Linked DNA regions of Homo sapiens: regions 2, 3 and 4 are each linked to region 1. Evidence: promoter capture Hi-C in 16 types of primary human blood cells and fetal thymus (Javierre and others, 2016). All regions are on one chromosome and are shown on one strand. The core of a region is centred on a gene start or on the middle of the fragment in contact, and the rest is flanking DNA. Distances in the headings are between cores, read along the strand shown. Region 1 holds the start of PIANP (PILR alpha associated neural protein). Region 2 overlaps C1S (complement C1s). Region 3 holds the start of C1R (complement C1r). Region 4 overlaps LPCAT3 (lysophosphatidylcholine acyltransferase 3).

What was found. Contacts are between HindIII fragments. The CHiCAGO score rates a contact against its expected background, and 5 or more counts as called.
Region 2: a contact is called between a fragment that was not itself captured here and the fragment with the promoter of PIANP in region 1, in 1 of 17 cell types (naive CD8 T cells). The highest score is 5.4, in naive CD8 T cells.
Region 3: the fragment with the promoter of C1R here is called in contact with the fragment with the promoter of PIANP in region 1 in 2 of 17 cell types (activated CD4 T cells and non-activated CD4 T cells); the score reaches 6.0 in activated CD4 T cells.
Region 4: a fragment that was not itself captured here is called in contact with the fragment with the promoter of PIANP in region 1 in 1 of 17 cell types (non-activated CD4 T cells); the score reaches 5.2 in non-activated CD4 T cells.

The regions. Positions count from the first base shown.
Region 1 is chr12:6,699,445-6,702,302 of GRCh38, forward strand. It overlaps PIANP (PILR alpha associated neural protein), which reads right to left and starts at 1,371. Exons shown (of 5, transcript NM_001244014.2): 1 at 1,170-1,371. RefSeq lists an enhancer at 151-652. The HindIII fragment of the contact is 12,862 bases long and covers 1-2,858 here.
Region 2 is chr12:7,065,719-7,068,926 of GRCh38, forward strand. It overlaps C1S (complement C1s), which reads left to right. Exons shown (of 12, transcript NM_001734.5): 7 at 99-252; 8 at 800-915; 9 at 1,321-1,399; 10 at 1,925-2,053; 11 at 2,738-2,812. Among named protein-coding and RNA genes, the nearest start is that of C1S, 6.6 kb to the left of the region's middle. The HindIII fragment of the contact is 335 bases long and covers 1,206-1,540 here.
Region 3 is chr12:7,090,866-7,093,726 of GRCh38, forward strand. C1R (complement C1r) reads right to left here and starts at 1,580. Exons shown (of 11, transcript NM_001733.7): 1 at 1,522-1,580; 2 at 587-815. The coding sequence starts at 1,523. RefSeq lists an enhancer at 1,628-1,922. The HindIII fragment of the contact is 12,054 bases long and covers 1-2,861 here.
Region 4 is chr12:7,001,017-7,004,009 of GRCh38, forward strand. All of the region lies in intron 1 of LPCAT3 (lysophosphatidylcholine acyltransferase 3), which reads right to left. Among named protein-coding and RNA genes, the nearest start is that of LPCAT3, 16 kb to the right of the region's middle. The HindIII fragment of the contact is 2,800 bases long and covers 340-2,993 here.

The DNA.
Region 1 (2,858 bases), core at 121-2,620:
GAGAGCAGGCAGTCCTGAAAAAGAGAGAACTGGGAAGAGAGGAGGAGAGTGGGTACAGAAGACTCGAACTGTGGAGGATGCCGAAGGGAGGAAAGGATGAGAGAAAAGGTCAGGGAGGGGAAACGGAGAGGATGAAGGGGTCACAGGTGCAGGGGAAGAAGGGGCAGGAGGAGAAGGAGAGAGCGGTCCAGGCAGGACAGCCAGAGGAGTGGAGAGTAAGGGGATGGGAGAAAAGGGGGGAAAGCCCAGGATGGGGAGAAAGGAAGTGGGGAAGGAGAGAACATAAATGCTTAAGGAAAAATGACACGAGGAACGGGCTGGGAAGCAGAGGCGGGAGCAGCAAAGATGGAGGAGTTCGGAATTGCTCCCCCAAATGTAAAGGGATGTGGAGATACCGAAAGACATAGGGATGGGGGCATGGTGGGAAGAAGGGAGAGAGAGGGGAAAGGAAGAAAGCTAGAGGGAGGGAGCGAGGCGTGTAGAGCGAACCAGTGAAGCGGAGAAGGGCTCCCAGGGCGCATCTGTGGCCAGCTGACTCTAGGACTATCGCCCCTCCGCCTGTGCATCCCCACCCCCAGCCAGCGCCAACCCAGTCCCTGGGCCCCGCACAGCTTCAGCCGCCCCCTCCAGGAAGCCCGCAGTCCCCGGGCTGGCGCGCCACCCCCACCCCTCTCCCAGCTTCTCACCGACCTGTTGTGCGCAGGAGACGAGCTGGGGGTGGGGCAGGAGCCTCGGGGTGCGGGAGCCGGGCCCCAGCCCCAGCGTGGCCCCCATCCCACCCATCCCGCAGGCCCGCACTCCCCGCACAGGGCTGGAGAGCGGCGAGAGTGGGGGGAGACGAGGAAAAGGAGGTCGGCGAAGGGACCCCGAGGCAGGGAGTGCCGAGAGCGGACTGGGGACCCGAAGCAGGAGACTGCGCGGAGCCGCCCGCCGAGCCGAGGCGGGATGGAGGCAGCCGCGGGGACGGGGACGGCTGCGCCAGGGAGGGCGGGAGCGAGCCAGGACCGCGGAGGGATGGAGAGCCCTTCGGGGAAGGGGCGCTGGGAGGCTGGAGGCCTTGTCCCGGGCGAGGGACCGCGTCGGGAGGGGCAGGAGGCGCAGGGCGCGGAGCCGGGAAGGGCAGGGCCGGGCTCCCCGCGGGTGGGGGCGTGGGGGTCCCTCTCACTCACCTGCATGCTTGGCGCGGCGGCGCGACGACTGCGGGCGCTCGGGACTGAGCGGGGCTGGGGGGTCGCAGGAGCGGGCGGGGTGCGGGGCATGGTGGGGAGGTTTGGCCCGCGGCAGGGCGCTGGAGCGGGTGGGGGGCGGGCGCCTGGGGCGCGGGGCGGCGGCGGTGGGAGATGCTCGCCTCGGCTCGGCTCGGCTCGGCTCGGCTGGGCTCGGCGCGGCGGCTGGGACCGCTCCGTCTCCGTCTCCGCCTCCCCCCCGCGCCGGAGGCCACGCACGGTTTAACCCTCCTGCTGCCGCGCTGCAGGAGTCAAGCCAGGCTATGTCCCAGGTGGAGGGCTGAAGAGGCTGGCAGGGTCCAGCGACCGTCCGCTTCCCTGGGTTCTGATGGCAGTCTCCCCACCTCCTTCACCCCAACTCCAGGGACACCCATGGTCGCCTCAGTCAGTTTCTGAGATTCTGAGTCACTCAATGCTCTGCATTCCCAACTTTGTTCTTTTGTATTGTGTTTTGTAGAGATGAGGTCTCGCTGTGTTGCCCAGCCCGGTCTCGAACGCCTGGGCTCAAGCGATCCTTCCCGCTCAGCTTCCCGGAGTGCTGGGATTACAGGCGTGAGTCACCACTGCCTGTCCCCCAACTTGGTTTTGCCCGCTGTAGAAAGTGCCTGAGGTCAAGGCTGGGGGCAAGGGGTGGAGGAAAGGACTGGGGAGGAAGGACCTTGCACCATCTTTGGATTATCCCCACAGCTTGATCCCCTATTTCACTCTGGCCCTGCTACCATGCATTAAGTGGATCACGTCGAAATTCCTGGGCTTTTCCAGCACTGGAATACCTAGACTCCGTGCTGTGACTTACAAGACCCTATATAACCTGGCTCTTAGGTGGCTCTCTGATTGCCTTTCCTAAAGATTTCTATGCTTCAGCCACATGGGACCTGGTGGATTTCCTGGTTGGAGACAGGTTTAACCTGCCTCAGGGCCTTTGCACTTGCTGTTCCCTCAGTAATACATTTCCCTGGCTTTTCACAATGACTTACTGTTTTCATTCCAGTCTCACTTAGATCCAACGCCTTCTGGGAGGCCTTCCCTAATGTCTCTATCAAAAGTAGCCTCTCCTGCCCCTTCTCCCACCACCTGGATCCCATCCCTCTCTACCACACTACGCTGTTTTTCCTCAGGGCACTTCCAGGACACCACACTCTCCTCATTTCCCTCCAACCTCACTGACTGTTCTTAGTCTTCCTCGGGTGACCTCTAAATGTTGGAGCCTCCTAGGGCTTAGTCCTTGGCCATTCTCTCTTTCCACATTCTCTGTCCAGTGATCTCATCCGGTCCCAGGGCTTAAATACTATGTAAATGTCAGTGAGTCCTAAATTTATATCCAGAGCGCCAGACTCATTTATCCGACAGCCTACTTGACATCTCCACTTGGATGTCTAATAGCCATGCAAAGCTAACTTGACTAAAATAGATGTCTTGAATTCCCCCACCCCCAATCCATTTTTCTCCCAGTGATCCCCATCCTGAGGCTTCACAACTACTAGTTGTTCAGGCTAAAAATCTAGGAAACATCCCTCCCTTCCCCTTTTTTTCACTGATTCTCTCCCTGTATCTAATTCACCAACAAGTCCTGTGGGCTCTGCGTCCAAAATATATCCCGAATTCATCTCCTTCTATCTTTATTGCTATAGT
Region 2 (3,208 bases), core at 123-2,622, 370 kb after region 1:
TGTGACATTTAATGCCTCTTTTATTTGTATCTCCCACTTCCCAATTTTACCTCTTCCCTTTAGTTCTTTCCCTCTTCTGATTTCATCATTTTGTTCAGTTTGTTGCAGGAGATCGGCAATTTGGTCCTTACTGTGGTCATGGATTCCCTGGGCCTCTAAATATTGAAACCAAGAGTAATGCTCTTGATATCATCTTCCAAACTGATCTAACAGGGCAAAAAAAGGGCTGGAAACTTCGCTATCATGGAGATCGTGAGTAACTTAGAAGTGCCTCTTTGGTTGGTGATACCAAAGTCCCCAAACAATGTGGGATCAAAGCAGGTAGATGATCCAGGCACACTGGAAGCACCTGTGATCTCAGCTACCGAGGGAGGCTGAGGCAGGAGGATCCCTTGAGCCCAGGAAGTAGGAGTTTGAGTCCACTCTGGGCAACAGAGCAAAACCTTGTCTCTAAAACAAAACAAAAACAAAGCAACAATAATTTAAAAAACAGATAGATTGTTGTTCTGATAGAATCCTGAGATACTTCACTTCTTCAGGAAAATCTAAACCAGTCAACGGTTGCTAGAAATGCCTCAACCTCTAGTAATCCTTTAACTAGACCTGAGACTGCAGACAGCTTGCGGGTGGTTAGTTGGTAATGCCATATGATTTTAGACATCTGCTGTATTGGAATGTTAAGCATCAGGATTGAGGACAACTGGACGATTTTAGAAAGTGTGAGAATGATGTAAATAGAATGAGAGTCTTCAACTATTTAGTAATTTTTTCCTCCTGTCCCAACTTCTGTTCTTTCAAGCAATGCCCTGCCCTAAGGAAGACACTCCCAATTCTGTTTGGGAGCCTGCGAAGGCAAAATATGTCTTTAGAGATGTGGTGCAGATAACCTGTCTGGATGGGTTTGAAGTTGTGGAGGTAAAGTACCACCTTGGCTTCTCCCCAGTCCCTGGCCCCAGATCAGGATGAGCGGACTGAAATTGTCCAGTTGTTTACCCAATGTATGTGTGTGATCAAGGTATAACACCTTTCCCATAAACACAACAGCTTAAGATCTGTAGTTCTCCCTTGTGAGTCATGGAGCTGCCTGGCCAGCTTGGCATTCTCTCTGCCTTCAGTCTTCTTGAGGAAGGGGAGTTGACACGTTGGGGCAAAGCTTTCTGTCAGCCTCATCTCCTGGGTGCTTTAGGTCTGCTAAGATGTTCCCAAGCTTCTTGTGGTGAGGACTCCTCATTGATCCAAGGCCAGAGATCAATTCCAGTTTTGATTTTGGTTTCCCATATCTCTCTTCAGAAATAAGTGGTGATGTTTATTATTCTCCAGGGACGTGTTGGTGCAACATCTTTCTATTCGACTTGTCAAAGCAATGGAAAGTGGAGTAATTCCAAACTGAAATGTCAACGTATGTGTCTCTTCAAAGTGGAAGTCTTTCTTTTTCTCTCAGAGAGAATGGAAAGATCAGCACATCAAAATTCAAATGCATGGTTTCCTCTTAGGCATGTGAGGGAGTGGGTTGGGTTTTTGAAGGGAAGCCAGTCATGGAAGCTTTTCTAGTCCCAGCCCCGCATCTGGTCCCAGGCCAACTAGATCGGCATGTTTCTTTCCAAGAAAGGGGCTATGGGATAGGTCGAGTTAGTAGCCCCACGTGGGTGCATTTGTGGCTTCCACTGGGCCTTCACCAACCACTGAGAACCAGGCTCTTCACTACGGCTTTCATGGGGCCATCTGAATTGGCATCTCAGCGGGTGAGAGAGCTGAGAGATGCCAGTTGGGGAGGATGGCCACAGAGAGGCTGGTGTGGGGAGGTTCATCCCAGGTGTGCCTGTGGATATGGGGTGGGGAAGCAGTGAGGATGAACCTGGCCCCATGACTCTTCCTTGGAGGAAGTGGCTGTCCTGACCATCGCTCTCCTTCCTTCGTCTGGTAGCTGTGGACTGTGGCATTCCTGAATCCATTGAGAATGGTAAAGTTGAAGACCCAGAGAGCACTTTGTTTGGTTCTGTCATCCGCTACACTTGTGAGGAGCCATATTACTACATGGAAAATGGAGGAGGTGGTAGGTTTCTTCTACTGGAGAAGAGAGAGAGAGAGTGAGAAGGTGTTGGAGGGTGGATAGCATAATCTGTGCCAGAGACAGAGTTTGGAGACAAATGAAGGCGATAGGACAGACATTGTTCATCCCCTTGGCTTCGTCCAAAGATACAGTTTTCATCTGGAGCAGGGCAAGTTCAGGGGAGCATCAGCCTCAGGGAATCATAGAGGTCACCAACTGAGTTCACAGCTGCAGCAGGAATTCCCCTACAACATCCATTTCATGGGATTACCCACCTTTTGACCAGTTATTTCATGTAAAACCCACAGGAGCAATGCCTTCAGCTTTAAGCCACCAAACTACACTGACTGGCTTTCTTGATGTAGAGGCTTTGGTCATGCTAGGTGCAGGGCTGAATGAGACCCTAATACGTTCTCTGCATTGCTCTGTATTTATTTCGCCACTTTCCCGATGCCTTCTTTCCTTCTGCTTTGGAGATGTTCCCTTTGTCTCCCTGGCAGGCTAGAGGCCTGAGGGATTGTTTGGAGGAAGATATTTTTTTTCTGGCTGATTTAATCTGATTTACTACTTGAATCCTAGACGAGCTGAGGTTCTGAAGGAACGGGGCAGGGTGTTGGGGTCGGAGGGGGGAATGGAAGAAGGAAGATGTGGTGGTGAGTGTGGCCTGTGTTCTCTGTGCTATTCCAGGGGAGTATCACTGTGCTGGTAACGGGAGCTGGGTGAATGAGGTGCTGGGCCCGGAGCTGCCGAAATGTGTTCCAGGTAAGGAGGGCTGAGGCTTGGGGAGAGATGATAGCCATGGGTGACTGGGAGTCACCTTCTGAAAGCAACTGTAATCCTCTTGGGAAAGGACTGAACAGTGACCTGCCAGAGTCCAGCTCAGTGAGGTGGCAGTATCACTGTGCCGTGGGCTGCCAGGGCCGTGGGGAACCTCCTCAGCCGCACTGAAGCCAGGCCAACTGGAAGGAAATAGAAACGTCAGCCAGCGACAGTTGGTGTCTGGTAATGTAGCTGCAGTGAGAAGATACAGAACTGCTAAAAACAGGGCCTGAAAGCTGAGAGTGTGTGAGTAATCAACACTCAGAAACAAGTCTAGCTAAATAGCCTAGTTATTATATTAAAAGTTTATAGGGCAGCAAGATATAGAGGAATTCAAAG
Region 3 (2,861 bases), core at 330-2,829, 390 kb after region 1:
GTCATGTAATTCACGCATAATCTCCAGGGGTCTCCTGGGAATGGTAGTTGTTGGACCTTCGCAGGCTCTGCTTGAGCCCTGAATCTCATTTTTACTGGATAGAGAAAGACAGGCCTGGGAAGGTACCCTTGGTTGCCACAGAGGTGAGGGTTCTGAGCACACTGTCCTTGCTGAAGGCTATTCCTGTGCTGCCAGAGCCCACATTTCTCCTCCTCATGTCCCTGTGTTCCTGTTGAAGCAGGCAGCCATGTCAATCATTTCCTTGGAGACAGGGAAGCTGAGGCACAGTGGTTTCCCAAAGACTCTCAGCTAGACAGCAGATGGGGAAGGTTTTCCTGACTCAGTGGATGTTGAATTTCCTGAGTGGGTCCTGTCCCCTTCCTTCTCTGTGCTTCTCCCCTCAGTGCTCACCGAGGGCCTCTACACCAGTGAGCGCCCATCCAGGGCATCCCCGGGCTCTCAGAGAGGCCGTTGGCCATCAGCTCTTGTGGGGCTGGGCTGTGTCTGGGGGTGTGCATGCCATACAGATCCCAGATCCCAGAGGGCCCAGTTTTGTCTCCCCTCTGCCCGCCCATCCTGCCCCTACCTTGACATAATCATAGAAGCAGCCTTCAGAAGGCTCCAGGTCAAACTGCTGGAAGACGAGCTTCACCCTGTATCCCGTGGGGACTGTGATCACAGTGGTTGTTTCAAAGTTGTTGGGGTAAGGCTTGGGGAACAGAGGGGAAGTCACCTCCCCAAATAACTTCTGAGGGATGGGAATGGAGCCTCCTGCCCTGCAGAACAGGGCCGGCACCAGGAGGTACAAGAGCCACCTGCCAAAACAAAAGAGAGTATCTGGAGCTGGAGGGGTTCAGCACTCTTGCCATGTGGGCAGTGGCTGTGGCAGGGGATGAGACGGCCATACCACTGGGCATTCTCCTCTCTGCCCACCCTGAACCTCACAGACATGTTCTCAGCAGGGGTGCGTGGGTGGGGAGGATGGCCTGTGCAGCTGCTGCATCGGGTCACTCTCCAGGGCAGTGTCCAGTCCAGAGGCCACCACACTCCCCTCACACTCCCTTTCCAGCCTCCTCCCCTGCCCGGACGCGTCCCTCCCCTCCCCTTCCAGGAATAGGACTGGCTTGGGACCAGTTAATGGAGGGTGAGGGTTTCCACCCGTGGGTCTCTGAAAGGGCTCCCACAGGTTCAGCAAGAGCGTCTGGGAGAAACCATCTGTGGAGTGGGGGACACAGGCACAGAGTGTCCCGTCCTGGGCAAGGGGTCCCCTCCTCTCGCTGCTCCCTGCCAAGAGCCCAGAGGGAAGAAAGGACCATGGCATGAGCATCTATGTATGAAGTCTCCTCTGATCCCTAGGAGGAGGGATGGGGCGTGTGTTGTGTGTGTCCACGCGTGTGCACAGTGGAACTGATGAGGTGTGTGAAGAGAGAAGGGTGTTCCTGTCTCCCTGAATTGCCTCCCATGCCCTGGCTTCTCCCCTGGCTTCTCCCTCCCACCTGGTTGCCCATCACCCTTACTCACATTTCTCAAGGCCCGTGTTGAATCCTGGGCTCTCCCGACAGCGTCTTCGTGCACTGTGTGCAGAGGGAGCCCGCGTCATGCACAGCAGGGAGGGGAGGGTTTTCTGTGGAGTGGAGGGGGGACCATTCCCGGAGGAATGTTGGAGGGAATGAACTATTTGCATAAACAAAAGATCTGAGTTTCCACTTTAATTTAGTTTTGGTTTTGAAATCCCTGTTTGTGGTGCCACCTGCTGGTCGGTGAGGGAAAGGGCTAAGGAGACGGGAGTCTGGCTTTTTAGGGCCCGGGGAGCCTTGGGTTGGAGGCCCAGATGTCTCAGTCTCTAAATCTGATCAGCTTCTCCCTTCTTCCAAGACTTTCCTGGGGGCTGCTGCTGTGTTTACAAGGTTCCTACCAAAGCAGTGGGAGACCACAGGTGGTGGTGAATTCTCTTTTCTGGGCTGTCCTTTCCCATTGACCCTGTTCTTCCTGCCCTCATTCAGCCCACAGCCCTGGTCCAAGAATGGCCCGGGTTTCAATGCCCAGGACGTAATGATAGGAACACTGGGGCAGAGGAGGGTGTGTGGGAGCGGGCAGAGGAGAGAGGAGCTTGGTTGCCTTGGGGCCCTGGCCTGCTTTAGCCATGAATGACACTTGGACATAGAATAGGGTTGGCCATGTCAGGGCAACCCTAAATCAGCCCTGGGTTTGAGACCCTCTGGGGCGGCTGCGGAGGGGGTAAAATGTCCCCATCTCCTTAGCATCTGCTCAACACAACTGCCAGGGCTGAAGCTAAGGATGCGGGTGTGGAGCAAGAGGGACTCGGTTTTTCTGAGATGAAGCCAGGCCCCTGGGAGGGAGGAGGGACCCTAGTCTCTCCTGTCCATCAGGCCATAGTGTCCTGCTTTAAAACTTTTGCTCTTGGCCACGTGTGGTGGCTCATGCCTGTGATGCCAGCACTTTTCGAGGCCAGGGTGGGAAGATCTCTTGAGCCCAGGAGTTCGAAACCAGCCTGGGCAACATAGTGAGATCTCGTCTCTAAAAGTTAAAATAAATTAAAAAACAATTTCATTGTTTTTGGAAGGCTTTCTTCATCAACTCTCCATGGCACCAAATATCTGATGGCACTTCATCCCACGGAGGGGCTTGGGCTGCAGAGCAGGACTCTGCGTTCTTAAGCCTTTGTAGGCTGTTCTGCTTGTTTCCCTTATTAGATGAATCCCTCCAACCTCCACCCTTCTGCCCCCACCCCCGTTCATCCATTTATGGGCTACCTGTTTAATGTGCAAGACACTTTCCCAGGCAATAGATTGCAAGAATTCACAGAGCTGATGCAGTTCCCCATCAGGCAGTGACCACAT
Region 4 (2,993 bases), core at 490-2,989, 300 kb after region 1:
TATTCTTTTAATGGATTTTAAGATATAAAATCTCAGGCTCAGAAATTTGAGCCACCTAGGGGTGAGAAATTTTGGCCTTTGCCCGCTTCGAACTGACTTAACTAAATTAAATCTATAGAAAGTAAAAAATAAAGGTCTGTGAATGTACCCAGTACTCTCAGGAAGAAGCATATTTGCCATGAAGCTAAAAAAGCTTCAGTTTCACTCCCCTTCCAAGGCTCTGGGGGGTGGGGTGGGGGCGGGAGCTAGCAACGTGCTCACATGGTCATATATTTTTGTAAAACTTATAGAAGATATTTTTGTATTCTTTTTCTTAAAGAAGATATCCAAGATTGTATAAGCTTCAGATCCCAGAAATCCTAGATTTAAAAAAAATAATCAACCACCACCCCAACAAAATTAGGCACATGCCTGAAAATTCTGCTGCTACTGCCAGAATTCTGCGGGTAGGGGCTTCATCCAAGGTGTTCCTAATAATAGGCAGAGTCCCCAGATTAGTTCCGGTGAGGCTTTTGGGAGGGGTTATTTGGCGCGGTGTTGGTGTTGGTAGGATCCTGGCTGTGAGGCTGAGGCAGGCCTGAGGAGGGCTGGGGCTGACAGGTAGGCAGAGTTGGCTGGGATGTGAGGTGCAAGGGGTGGTACTTCGGAAACAAACTTTGAAGAGGAGAAGGGGCAGCAAGACTGTGAGTCTGGACTTTGTGATACACTGTCACCCCTAGTTTAGTGTGCCTGGTTAGGGAGAATCAAGCAGCATGGAACCCCTCTTCCTTTTTCACTAACATTTTTCTGTATAGTGGTTGAAACCCAGTGTTAAGAGACTGCATGACATTGGAAAAGAAGGGGAGGAGAAAAAGAGTCCATATGAGGCAAGAACAGAACGCAGCCAGAATTAGGGCAGGCAGGGAAAGGAAGGGAGTGAGATGTGGGAGTCGGGGGGGAGTTGAGGTAACCTGCATTTTATATGCTAGAGCTACGTATTTTAGATGCAGGGGCAACTGTTTCGGTCCAGGAGTGGAAAGGACTGTAGAAGCAATCTAGCACAGCTGTTTCTCACTTGGGAAAACTGAAGCCCTCAGAGGCAGAGGGAGGAATGGGGAGCGGCCAGGCCAGGACAGGACTCAGCCCCCAGTTCCTCTTCTCAGGCGTCCGATTCCTTCTGATCTTTCTCTCCTGCCCTCTCTGTTACTGCTTCCTCCTGTTCTTACCCTTATATACACTTGAAGTTTTATCCCCATTTTTTATGCTTATGGGATTGTACACTTTCTGGTTCTCTCTCAAGTCCAACCAGTATGTGGTAACCTGTCTCTTCCCACTTCATTTGTGGCACTGGTTTGCAGTGGACAAAAGGTCCGTGCTCCTCTTCTAACCTAATCTGGACTGGGTTGCCCAAAGGTTGCCCTGCCACACTGCCAAGTGCCTAATTAGCTGTTTTCTCTCCAACCCCTCCAAACACTTATCATGAGTAATTTCTCTTGTCTTTAGAGTTGCCAAATCTAATCTCTGTAAATACAAATGTGGTGAGACTTCTTCTCAGGAGTTTCAGCAAATGAAACAATAAACTCTTTTTTACCCTGCTAAGATTCTAAAGATAACCATGAGAATACTCCTAATTATCCTTATAAATTTGAATAAGTGTGGTTGTTGGGTTCTCTCACCCTTTTTATATCCCTTCAAAAGAAAATACAAGTTTGAATTCTATAAAATATTTTTCTGGCCGGGCGCAGTGGCTAACGCCTGTAATCCCAGCACTTTGGGAGGCTGAGGTGGGTGGATCACAAGGTCAGGAGTTCAAGACCAGCCTGGCCAACATGGTGAAACCCCATCTCTACTAAAAATACAAAAGTTAGCTGGGCGTGGTGGCGGGCGCCTGTAATCCCAGCTGCTCAGGAGGCTGAGGCAGGAGAATCACTTGAAACTGGAAGGCAGAGGTTGCAGTGAGCTGAGATGGCACCACTGCACTCCAGCCTGGGCGAAAGAGTGAAACTCCATCTCAAAAAAAGAAAAAAAAAATTTCTAATATTTATGGAATGCACTCTCTTATATACCAACATACATTTGTAGCATTTTTTTTCCTTCAGAGTATGAAGAAATCAGTAAAAATGGGCAAAGCACAAATGACAACTAATGGATTTTGTTAAGTCCTATGTGTCACTTTAAGAACTTGAAACTGGCTCAAATAAAAACCATTTTATTTGGTTATTAAAATGAGACTTAAAAACTTAAAACAAGATTTTAAGTGATCTTAAAATGTCTTATCCTACAGAAGATTTTAGAGGCAATGTAGTACAAAAAGCTCTTCCTTTTCTCTGAAGAATTTATTGAGTGCTTTGGGAGTAGGGTGAGTTTTTTTTTTTTTTTTAACATATGTTTGATTCAATTAAGCAAAAATATTGTTTCATGTCTCACTGAACTGAATACATTCTACTATCCATTGGTTTTCAATGTTCACTTATTTATTTTATTTTAGTAGAGACTGGGTCTCACTGTGTTGTCCAGGTTGGGTTTTCAAATTTTATGTCTAACACAGTGTGCTAAATACAACTGAGTTTCATAAGCCATTTTTCCCACTTCTGTACATGGCACTGGTCTCAACCTGTATCATGCATAAGAATTACCTAGGATGCGGCCGGGCGCGGTGGCTCACGCCTGTAATCCCAGCACTTTGGGAGGCCGAGGCGGGTGGATCATGAGGTCAGGAGATCGAGACCATCCTGGCTAACAAGGTGAAACCCCGTCTCTATTAAAAATACAAAAAATTAGCCGGGCGCGGTGGCGGGCGCCTGTAGTCCCAGCTACTTGGGAGGCTGAGGCAGGAGAATGGCGTGAACCCGGGAAGCGGAGCTTGCAGTGAGCCGAGATTGCACCACTGCAGTCCGCAGTCCGGCCTGGGCGACAGAGCGAGACTCCGTCTCAAAAAAAAAAAAAAAAAAAAAAGAATTACCTAGGATGCTTATTAAAAATGCAGATTCCCAATTCCTGAAGGGAGGTCATGC